4 separate regions of the Homo sapiens genome follow, and regions 1, 2 and 3 are each linked to region 4. Evidence: promoter capture Hi-C in 16 types of primary human blood cells and fetal thymus (Javierre and others, 2016). All regions are on one chromosome and are shown on one strand. The core of a region is centred on a gene start or on the middle of the fragment in contact, and the rest is flanking DNA. Distances in the headings are between cores, read along the strand shown.

Region 1 (2,700 bases), core at 46-2,545, 1.0 Mb after region 4:
TAAACTAACATAGAGAAAAATAAGGAACTGCTAAGAATCAGTGCAAAAAAAGATAAATATATATGGAACAGGTAAAATGTGAAAGAAGAAACCTGAATAGCCATGAAAAGGTACTTGCCATGAAAAGACACTTGCTCTAACCAGTAATTTAAAAAGTAAAAATGAGAATCAAATAAGATACCCTTTCACACCTACCAGATTGACAATAATTAAACAGTCTAACAATACCAAGCATTATTAAGGACAAGAAGTGATAAGAACTTCCACAGACCGGTGCCAGCCAGGGATGAAAATAGTAAAGTCACTTTGGAGAGCTGTTTGGCAATCTCTTTATTAGTCAAAAGATATAGGTACTCTATAAATTCCACTCCTAAAGGCATACCCTAGAGAAATTCTCCACACGTGCAAAGGCAAACTTAAACTTGTTCATGAGCATTTGTTACAGATTTGAAATTTTTAAAATAATCCAAATGTCCAGCAACAAGAAAATAAAATGTGGTATAGTCAACCTGTAGAATACTATATGGCAGCGAAAAGGAATGAACTAGAACTACGTGTCATCAATCTGAATAAATCTCAAAAACCACCTGAAGGAAAAGAATCAAGCAAGTTGCAGAAGACTACTTATATTTTTATATCATTTATACAATACTCTATTGTTTAAGGATAGACATGAAGTGAAAAAATAAGAAAAATAAAATACACATAGCTCAAAGGAAGGGATTTCAATTGAGAAAAACACACAGAAGACTTCAGCTGGCCAGGCAGTTGGCTCTCATCTATAATCCCGGCACTTTGGAAGGCTGAAGGAAGAGGACTGCTTGAGGCAACGAGTTCAAGACCAGTCTGGGCAAGAGAGAGAGATCCTATCTCTACAAAATATTTTAAAATTAGCCAGTATCCTGTAGCATGAGCCTATAATCCCAGCTACTCAGGAGGCTGAGGTGGGAGGATCTCTTGAGCCCACGAGTTTGAGGCTACAGTGAATTATGATCATGTTGGGGCAATGGAGTAAGATTCTGTCTCTTAAAAAAAAAAAAAGATTTTAACTGTATTTGTCATTTTAGTTCTTAAGCTGAAAGGTGAAGATACATGTTTTGATTTACCCAAAAATTTGTGTATATCTGAACTATTCCATTAAAAATTCAGGCCGGGCGCAGTGGCTCACTCCTGCAATCCCAGCACTTTGGGAGGCCGAGGCAGGCAGATCACGAGGTCAGGAGATTGAGACCATCCTGGCTAACGCAGTGAAACCCCGCCTCTACTAAAAATACAAAAAAGTAGCCGGGCGTGGTGGCAGGCATGTGTAGTCCCAGCTACTCGGGAGGGTGAGGCAGGAGAATGATGTGAACCCGGGAGGCGGAGCTTGCAGTGAGCCGAGATTGCGCCACTGCACTCCAGCCTAGGCAACAGAGCGAGACTGTCTCAAAAAAAAAAAAAAAACTCAGGTAGAAGAGGAAGGACTTGTTGCAGTAAATAACAGAGCTACTGTAGATCCTTGAGTAGTTAAATAATATAAAATAAATTTTCTGAAAACTAATCTGCCTTTGGGATAAAAGATGACACATACTACACCCTCCACATATATGTCAACTACATGAATATTATCAAGTAAGAGACTACTGCAGCACCACTGGCCTGAAGCAATGAGAACCTGGAGTGGAATCACTGACAGTGAAAATGGAAAGGAAACCCAAGTAACAGTTACAAGAAACAAATGATCAGATTTGGTGAAAATTCAATATAAACAACATAGAAGAATAGAAAAAGGAGATCACGAAATCTCCTCTGTGAACCAATCTGCAAGGGCCCCTTCAGCAATCACACCACACAATTACCTAACTACAAGGTATCTACACTTGGACAGGAGAAACTCGCGTAACTAGTGACAGAAGTATGACAGCCACGAGAGTCACAAAACAGGGGAAATACTCATCAACCAATGATTGACATGACGTTGAAGGTAACATTCACAATATTTAAGAGAGAACGTCTTACTAATAGCTCCAAACATGGGACGAGAGCATGATCCCAAGTCATAGCTGGAGATGTGAATTTTTCAATCACATAGAGAAGATTAACTGAAGCCATGTATTTGATGAGCTGACCTAGAAAATACGCAAGCAGAAAGACTTGGCTCTGACAAACAGGACTGAGGAAAAAAAAAAAAAAAACAGAAGAAACAGGAGAGGTGGTCGGGAAAACAAACACACAAAATATCCCAAGAATTCAGCTTCAGAGAAGCAAAGAGAGAAGAAAGTTTTCAGAAAGGAGGGACTGACAAGATCACATGCTTAGAAGATTGAAAAGCCTGCAGAGTAAGAAAAGGCCACTGAATGCAGGAAGGAGGTAACCTGGTAACTTCCAAAAGTCTAGTTTCTATCATCAGAGTGAACAGGCAACCTACAGAATGGGAGAATATTTTTACAATCTACCCATCTGACAAACGGCTAATATCCAGAATCTACGAGGAACTTAAACAAATGTACAAGAAAAATACAACCCCATTAAAAAGTGGGCAAAGGATATGAACAGCCACTTCTCAAAAGAAGACATTTATGCAGCCAACGAATATATGAAAAAAAGCTCATCACCACTGGTCATTAGAGAAATCCAAATCAAAACCACAGTGAGATACCAGCTCATGCCAGTTAGGATGGCGATTATTAAAAAGTCAGGAAACAACAGATGCTGGAGAGG
Region 2 (2,700 bases), core at 149-2,648, 1.1 Mb after region 4:
AAATAATAGGAATATTGTCTTTTCTGTTGGTCTTGAGACAAAACAGTCGATTATATTTGGACACGGGTGGCCATGGCACTTAAATAGCGGCTCTAAGTGAAATCCATATAAAAGGTACTGTCCAATCATGAATCCAACTTCAACCACAGAGCGAGTGAAAATGTGTATCACATAAGTGCAAAGCAAGGTTCCTCTGAGTGGAGCTTTATTTAGTTTCCTTTTCTCCAGCTGACAAAGCTCTTGCTCCAATCTCCTCCGATCCCTAGGCATTTCAAACTCTACCTCCTCCAGTTCTACTCTTAACTGAGCTTTCATCCTTTGCCTCTCTTCCTCAAGAACTCTCAGTCGGTACAATGCATGGCCCATGTAGACCAGGGATGGTGAAGACACAAATATCACCTGCAGAACCCAGTATCTAATGAGGGAGATAGGAAAGGCCTGGTCGTAGCATACATTTCTGCAGCCTGGTTGTTCTGTATTGCAGATGAAGCCAGACTGCTCATCATTCCAGACATCTTCAGCTGCTACACCCAGAACAAGCATTCGAAATATGAACAGGATGGTGAGCCAGATCTTTCCAATCATGGTGGAGTGGATGTGAACTTCCTCCAGAGTATCTCCAAGGAGATTCCAGTCCCCCATGTTTATTTAGTCAGCCATCTTAGCTCTGATCCACATCAAATAAGAGGCAGATAAATTCTTCCATTCTGAAGGGAGCACTATTTCTTAAAGCAAACCTATGGTGAAAATATAACAATATGTCACTTCTATATGCTGGTTGCTTTACTTTTTCCCTAGATAGCTGTGGGGTTTTTTCTTTGTTTGTTTGTTTGTTGAGACAGAGTCTCCCTCTGTTGCCCAGGCTGGAGTACAGTGTTGCAACCACAACTCCCTGCAGCCTCAACCTCCCAGACTCAAGCGATCATCTCCCCTCTCAGCCTCCTGAGTAGCTGGGACTGCAGGTGTGTGCAACTACACCCAGATAATTTTTTTTATTTTTTTGTAGAGACAGGGTCTCACTCTATTGCTGCAGCTAGTCTTAAACTCCTAGACTCAAGTGATCCTCTTGCCTTCACCTCCCAAAGTGTGGGAATTACAGGTGTGGGTCACCACACCTGGCCAAAGTGTGAATCTGTTACCAATAATATACTTAAATGTCAGGAATTTAAAATCACTTATATTTAGACATCACAATACAATGAAAAAAACATGATACCTGGAGGAGGAGTGTATATATTCTCTATTAAGAATATAGGCTGGGCGGGGTGGCTCACACCTGTAATCCCAACACTTTGGGAGGCCAAGGTGGGTGGATCATTTGAGGTCAGGAGTTCCAGACCAGCCTGGCCAACATGGTAAAACCCCGCCTCTACTAAAAATACAAAAATTAGCCAGGCGTGGTGGCAGGCGCTTGTAGTCCCAGCTACTCGGGAGGCTGAGGCAAGAGAATCGCTTGAACCTGGAAGGCAGAGGTTGCAGTGAGCTGAGATCAAACCCTTGACCTCAGATGATCTGGCCACCTCGGCCTCCCAAAGTGCTGGGATTACAGGCATGAGCCAATGCGCATGGCCTAAAATTATATTCTTTTTTTTTTTTTTTTTGAGACGGAGTCTCACTCTGTAGCCCAGGCTGGAGTGCAATGGCATGATCTCAGCTCACCGCAACCTCCACCTCCTGGGTTCAAGCGATTCTCCTGCCTCAGCCTCCTGAGTAGCTGTGATTACAGGCATGCACCACCATGCCCGGATAATTTTGTATTTTTAGTAGAGATGATGTTTCTCCATGTTGGCCAGGCTGGTCTCGAACTCCTGACCTCAGGTGATCTGCCCACCTCGGCCTCCCAAAGTGCTGGGATTACAGGCGTGAGCCACCATGCCCAGCCTATTGTTGTTTTTCAACAGAACTTTTGGAAAGGTTTCTAAAACTAGTAACCTGATCTTAACCTTATTTATTAAGATTATTTGATATAAAAGTTATAACAAAGTCAATTTCTTTTTCCCCAACATGCCATTACTGGCTTGAAAAGTCAGTGATTTTTTTTTCTTTCTTTCTTTCTTTTGGGACAGAGTCTTGCTCTGTCGCCAGGCTGGAGTGCAGTGGCGCAATCTCGGCGCATTGCAACCTCCGCCTCCTGGGTTCAAGCGATTCCCCTGCCTCATCCTCCTGAGTAGCTGGGATTACAGGCGCCTGCCAACACCCCCCGGGATAATTTTTTGTATTTTAGTAGACACGGGGTTTCACCATGTTGGCCAGGATGATCTCGATCTCCTGACCTCGTGATCCACCCGCCTCAGCCTCCCAAAGTGCCAGGATTACAGGCATGAGCCACCGTGCCCGGTCAAAAAGTCAGTGATTTTTAAATCTCATTTATACACATAGGAAAACGAATATGCTTCATTTGATAATTCAGTAAGATATGGCATTCAGTGAAACCAGAGGAAACAGATCTGGCTGTCATAGGAATTTAGATTAGTTTTTTTAATCCAAATTGAAATAAATTTGAAATAAATTCTGGTTTCTTCCTGGCAATTGGTGAACATTTTCAGAAATTCATCTCAGTAATATTTATGAATATGTATAAAGTACTTATTATACTTTACTATGAAAAAGTATACTTTTTTTCTTTTTTTTTGGTGGGGGGAGACAGAGTCTCACTCTGTTGCCCAGACTAGAGTGCAGTGGCAGGATCTCAGCCCACTG
Region 3 (2,700 bases), core at 30-2,529, 1.1 Mb after region 4:
TTCGAGATGACCCTGGCCAACATGGTGAAACCCCGTCTCTACTAAAAATACAATAATTAGCCGGGCGTGGTGGCGCGCGCCTGTAATCCCAGCTATTCGGGAGGCTGAGGCGGGAGAATTACTTGAACCAGGGAGGTGGAGGTTGCAGTGAGCCGAGATTGCACCACTGCATTCTCCAGCCTGGGCGACAGAGCGAGAGACTCCGTCTCAAAAACATAAACAAACAAACGTGTACAGCCCTCCATTTGTTCATGAAGGCCCAAAAGTGAAAACAAACAGACTAGGTCTGCAAAATATTCTCAAAGTCTCAGATTTTTAAAAACACACCCCTACAGGGGGAACAGCACCAGTAATTACATTCACCAGGCCACAACTACTGAAATGGGTGCAATCTCACTACCCAATTCCCAGTAATGCTACAGCGAAGTCTCCTTCACATCAGTAGCGAGAATTACAACGCCCAGTGTCTTAGTCACAACTCTTCCTGACGCTGCTCCCTGGGGCTCTGCTGGGAATCCCGAAACACTCAGGTCACCTGAAGTGAGAACAAATCAAAACGGGCCAGGGGAGGGAGTCCACGAAGTTCTCCAAGTGAGAACTGGAGAGTACGTCTCAGTTTCGTAAATGACACAGGAGCTGGGTCCCAGGGGGCGGAGGTCTTGGGCGGTGCCACCGGGCACCTGCCTCCCGGCAACCAGTTTCGCCTTCAGCGCTCCACTTGGCTTCAGCTGACTTGGGCGTGGACACAGAGGTCGGGGTCCCCGCGCGGGCCGCGCCTGTGCGCTCGCAAGAGTGGAAGAGAAAGTGCGGAGGGACGGAGCGCAGGCGGGCCCCGGCCGCCGCCCTCCCGGGCGTCCCCGCTACCGGCCACCTGAGAACCGGGGAGGGGGCGGGGGACTGGGCGCAGCCCTGCTCACCTTCTGGATGGAGGACTTGCCGCTGCGCCGGAGTCCCATGAGCAGAATCCTCGGCTTGGAGCTGTCAGCGCCCCCCGGACCACAGCCACCGCCTGCCCCTGCCCCAACCCCTCCGCCCGCCGCCGCCGCCTCCTCTTCCTCCTCCTCCACGCCGTAGCCGAAGTCCTTTGGAAACGAATCGGCCGCGCCGTAACTGCCGGCGAGGGGCGTCTCCTCCGCCCCGTACTGCAGGGACATGGTGCTGGAGCCGCCGCCGCCCGCGCCCTGACAGGCCAGGCCAGGCCGAGCCAGGCCGCCGCCTCCCCAGTCCGCCTCCGCCGCCGCCGCCACCACCGCCACCGCCCCCGGCAGCCGCCACAGTCCGGCCCGCCCCCCGGAGCCCGGCTCTCATAGGCCCCGAGCCGAAGCCCAGCCGCTTATTGGCCGCCCGAGCTGCTACTCGAGAGCAGCAGGGTAGGTGGTGCCCCGTCACGTGCCGGAATCACCTGACTCAGAGCCGCGGAGGGGGGAGGAGGAGTCACGAGGAGGGCGGCCCGGCCGCGCCTCTAGCCCCGGCTCGGGCCCTCAGCCCTCCGCCCCGGCCCGCATACAACGCTGTCTGCACCGCTCCCCTGCCTTCTTCCGGGCTCCCAGAGCACCGCTATGGAGATGCTCTCCCGGCATTTGAGGAAGAATTGATTGTCCTCATCCTGCAACTGTACTTGCCCAACCGATATTTATTGATGCCTGCAGTGTCCTGGGTGCCTACCAAGGGGCACAGAACTGGATCCGACGCAGACCCTGCCTGCCTTCAGGTTGCTTGAAGATGAACAGAGAGATCGGACCTCTGCGTAAGTAACCTCGCTACGAAATATTATGTGGGAAGGTCACGGATAAATAATGCTCGGGAGTTGAATGAGAAAGCGTCTGAGCAGATCTAGGTGGATGGATAGATTGGGATGTGCAAAGGTATGGGGGAGCCAGCCACACTGAGGGCAAACCTCAACCAAGGCAGAGTCATGGGTCACCGTGATAGTTTGTTCTAGCAGGTAGCTGGACCCTGATGGGAAAGCAGATGCAGCCAAGCTAGAACATCTTATCTTCTTTCTTCAGTAAGTCGCCGATAGTGGATACTGCTGCCACTTCAAACCCAACGGGACTCAATTTGCCCTCCTTCCCGCCTTGTCAAAGTCTACTCTAGGAATTCCATCCCCCATAGAACACTGCCTCTTCTATGACCTCGTTCAGATTAGAGACCAAAGTATTGAATAATGAAAGCAAACAAAAGCAAATGCTTGTCACCAAATATGTCCGAGAAATCTAGAGGAATTTTTATTTTTGATAATCAGGCTCTAGAACTGGAAGTTTGAGAAGAGGATCCTCTTAAAGCACAGCCCTATACACTTTTTAAAGTACAGGAGTGGGGGTGCTCCCAGCCCTCCAAGGAGACTGACTTCTTGATTATGAAGGAAAAATTCGCACATGCGGGCAGGTCTGGGACTTTGGTTTTGTCTGAACCCAGAAGTTAGAGGTAGGATACACCCTTAGAGGTCATCTAGCCCAACCTCTCACCTAAAACGAACCAACTCTATAGTGTCTAATAGACATGCAGAATGCACTTAAATAGTTCGAAGGTAAAAGAGCTCACCATCTCGAAAGGCAGCCAACTCCACTGTGGTAAACCTTTGTTTAAAAATTGTTAAAGCCGGCCGCGCGGTGGCTCACGCTTGTAATCCCAGCACTTTGGGAGGCAGAGGCGGGCGGATCATGAGGTCAGGAGATCGAGACCATCCTGGCTAACATG
Region 4 (2,700 bases), core at 137-2,636:
GTTAGCCAGGCTGGTCTCAAACTCCTGACCTCACATGATCCACCTGCTTGGGCCTCCCAAAGTGCTGGGGTCACAGGCATGAGCCACTGCCCTTGGCCTTCTTCATCTTTCTTTACAGCACTGTCGTGAAGATTTATAGCCTAACTGTGTTCTCCAGAAACTGTTATCTCCAGAAAAACAGGAAGACATTGTTCTTATAATCTTTCCTATTATTATAAAGACTGAAGAAAAGACCAATTCTCCCCCTGGCTTTTCAGACTTTGAGATAAAATCTTTCAAATTTTTTTAATTTATATTGCCCCCCACCACCTCCCTGCCAGCTGGGCAACCTTCCCACTGTTGGCCCAAGAACTCTCATGCCTGGCCATCCCAGTGTACTATCAATGCCACTGATTCACAGAAAACAGTATGTGCGCTGGTGACATTTCCAGGGGAAGGACTGGGTAAACTCACCTCGACATTCAGAGAACTGGCCTGGGAGCTGAGGTTGGCACTAGTGAGAGCAAGCGGACCCTCAAACATCTGAGCCAAGTCTTGCATAAAAGCATGATCAGGAATCCGAATGCCTACAAGCTGTAAGGCAAGGGGAAAGGGATCATGAGAAAGGTTGGAAGGGATAAGAGGGTAAGTCTTATCTGGATCCTAGTGAAAGCCAAGTGGCCTGGAGTCTGGGGACACAAGAGAAAACTTGACTCACAGGCGTAAAAGGGTTTAGGTCCTTGTTGAGCTCCTCCGAGCGTTCCATCACCAGGGTCACTGGTCCTGGCAGTAGGTCTTTCAGGAGCCCCTCAGGTACTCTCACACGGCAGTATCTGGGAAACACAGAAGAATAAATCCATTCAAAATTGAAGGGCCACTGGTGGTCCTTTCCTAGACTCTAGGCAGACGTAGAAAAGGAATCCTTCGAGTTTACAATGGGAGCCGCCTGTCTCCCTGCTTCACCTCCCTAAGAGCTTGAGCAGAAAGCAGGGCTCCAGAGGCGCACCCCTGGCTTGACGCCCATGTGCCTCTGGTCTCAGGGACTACAACAGCTGCACCGCTGTGATATCATGATAGTGGGATCAAGCTCCACGTTTTATTTTCTTCAAGGCATTCGCTATTAAATTAAGCTACTGTGTTTGTTTGCTTTTTTCCCGGGGGCCTCCCCAATTAGCACAAATACGCCAAGGGAACAGGGTCCCTGCCTTTCTCGTGTGTTGCTGCTTCCCAGCAGCATGTAGTTCAGGGCCCGGGGCACGTTAAGTCCTCGGTACATATTTCCAGTTCCGGATTCCTTGGTGAGCCTGGACAAGCCCCTCCCGCTCTCTGCGCCTCAGTCTCCCAAGCCTGTCACCGGAAACCCCTCCCGCGGTGCCGCCCCTAGCGGGGCCGGGTCGGGGCGGCCTTACCTGTAGACGTCGGCCACGCGGCCGAGGCATACGGCCAGAGGCTTGGCCTCGCTGCGACCCTTGAGGCGGTACACAGCGCGCAGAGCCGCCGAGCAGCTCGCCGCGCAGGCCAGGCCGTACAGCGTATCGGTGGGGACGGCCACCACGGCGCCGGCGCGCAGCTCGGCCACGGCGGCCCGCAGCGCCTCGGTCCAGCCGGCGCGCTCCGGGCTCGCGGCCTGCACGGCCCCGCTCCCCGGGAGCCGCAACAGCCGGGCGCCGGGGGCCGCCGGAGCGGGACTCGGCGGGCGGAAGAGGCGACCGCTCCGGGAGCCAGCAGGCCCCTCGCTCAACCCCACGCTGGCAGCCACCGCGGCCCTCATCCCCCTGCACCGACGCGCCGGAGACATCCGCCCAGGCCCGCTTCCGGGAGGAAGTGACGCTCCCAGCCAGCTTCCGGTCCAGGAGACTCGGCCCCGCCTCTGCGCCGGGCAGCTTAAAGGGACCACGACCCCCAGGAGGATTGAAGGAGACCGGTGGGGACGGGGCGGGGCGCAGCCTTGCGAAGCCCTAACGCAGCGCTGGGGAGGGGGGCGGCCGAAAGGGGGGCGGTGGTCGGGCCGCGCAAGCGGAGATGGAATGGGGCCCGGGCTCAGACTGGTCACGGGGGTGAGAGGGGGCCCGTCGGGGCGGGAGGAAGGGGCTTGGCCCCGCGCAAGCGCCGGCCCTGACCGTCTGTCTCTCGCTCTCTCCCGGGCAGGGAGGCTGCCGGCGTGGACCGCGGGAAGGCGGGGCTGGGGCTCGGCGGGAGGCCACCCCCACAGCCGCCCCGGGAGGAGCGCGCCCAGCAGCTGCTGGACGCGGTGGAGCAGCGGCAGCGGCAGCTCCTGGACACCATCGCAGCCTGCGAGGAGATGTTACGGCAGCTGGGCCGCCGGCGCCCGGAGCCGGCTGGTGGCGGGGTTAGTGCCCACCCTGGGCTGGGCTGGGGTGGGGTGGGGTCTGCCCACTGGCTAGGCTGGCCAAGCCCTAGCTTACCCTGGAGGGGGGAAGTATGTCTCCGCCGCTTTATCCCTAACCTCCTTTGATCTGGTGAGAGGTTTCGAAAAAGTTAATACTATCCAAATGCCAAATGGCCACATCCTTGTGGGGCCTAATCCAAGGCCTTGCCTCCCAGCCTCACTTTTTTCCTTTCTGTTCCAACTAGAACGTCTCAGCCAAACCTGGAGCGCCCCCCCAGCCGGCTGTCTCCGCCAGAGGCGGCTTTCCAAAGGATGCTGGCGATGGAGCTGCGGAGCCCTGACCATCCCCGAGCAGAATACCCTGACTTCTC

Evidence for each region. Contacts are between HindIII fragments. The CHiCAGO score rates a contact against its expected background, and 5 or more counts as called.
Region 1: a contact is called between a fragment that was not itself captured here and the fragment with the promoter of C1orf122 in region 4, in 1 of 17 cell types (neutrophils). The highest score is 6.3, in neutrophils.
Region 2: a contact is called between a fragment that was not itself captured here and the fragment with the promoter of C1orf122 in region 4, in 2 of 17 cell types (fetal thymus and neutrophils). The highest score is 10.1, in fetal thymus.
Region 3: the fragment with the promoter of RRAGC here is called in contact with the fragment with the promoter of C1orf122 in region 4 in 1 of 17 cell types (neutrophils); the score reaches 5.3 in neutrophils.

The regions. Positions count from the first base shown.
Region 1 is chr1:38,842,291-38,844,990 of GRCh38, forward strand. All of the region lies in intron 6 of RRAGC (Ras related GTP binding C), which reads right to left. Among named protein-coding and RNA genes, the nearest start is that of RRAGC, 16 kb to the right of the region's middle. The HindIII fragment of the contact is 4,730 bases long and covers 1-2,700 here.
Region 2 is chr1:38,875,457-38,878,156 of GRCh38, forward strand. It overlaps GJA9 (gap junction protein alpha 9), which reads right to left. Exons shown (of 2, transcript NM_030772.5): 2 at 1-737. The coding sequence starts at 642. RRAGC-DT (RRAGC divergent transcript) reads left to right here. Exons shown (of 2, transcript NR_186075.1): 2 at 485-770. The region is part of intron 1 of GJA9-MYCBP (GJA9-MYCBP readthrough); the gene reads right to left. Among named protein-coding and RNA genes, the nearest start is that of MYCBP, 3.5 kb to the left of the region's middle. The HindIII fragment of the contact is 8,897 bases long and covers 1-2,700 here.
Region 3 is chr1:38,858,493-38,861,192 of GRCh38, forward strand. RRAGC (Ras related GTP binding C) reads right to left here and starts at 1,280. Exons shown (of 7, transcript NM_022157.4): 1 at 918-1,280. The coding sequence starts at 1,154. It overlaps RRAGC-DT (RRAGC divergent transcript), which reads left to right and starts at 1,401. Exons shown (of 2, transcript NR_186075.1): 1 at 1,401-1,747. RefSeq lists a silencer at 810-1,569 and an enhancer at 1,205-1,499. The HindIII fragment of the contact is 4,947 bases long and covers 1-2,700 here.
Region 4 is chr1:37,806,404-37,809,103 of GRCh38, forward strand. It overlaps C1orf122 (chromosome 1 open reading frame 122), which reads left to right and starts at 1,387. Exons shown (of 3, transcript NM_198446.3): 1 at 1,387-2,036; 2 at 2,128-2,329; 3 at 2,575-2,700. The coding sequence starts at 2,002. The coding sequence ends at 2,670. YRDC (yrdC N6-threonylcarbamoyltransferase domain containing) reads right to left here and starts at 1,805. Exons shown (of 5, transcript NM_024640.4): 1 at 1,389-1,805; 2 at 698-812; 3 at 454-573. The coding sequence starts at 1,777. RefSeq lists silencers at 1,455-1,714, 1,895-2,444. The HindIII fragment of the contact is 6,155 bases long and covers 1-2,700 here.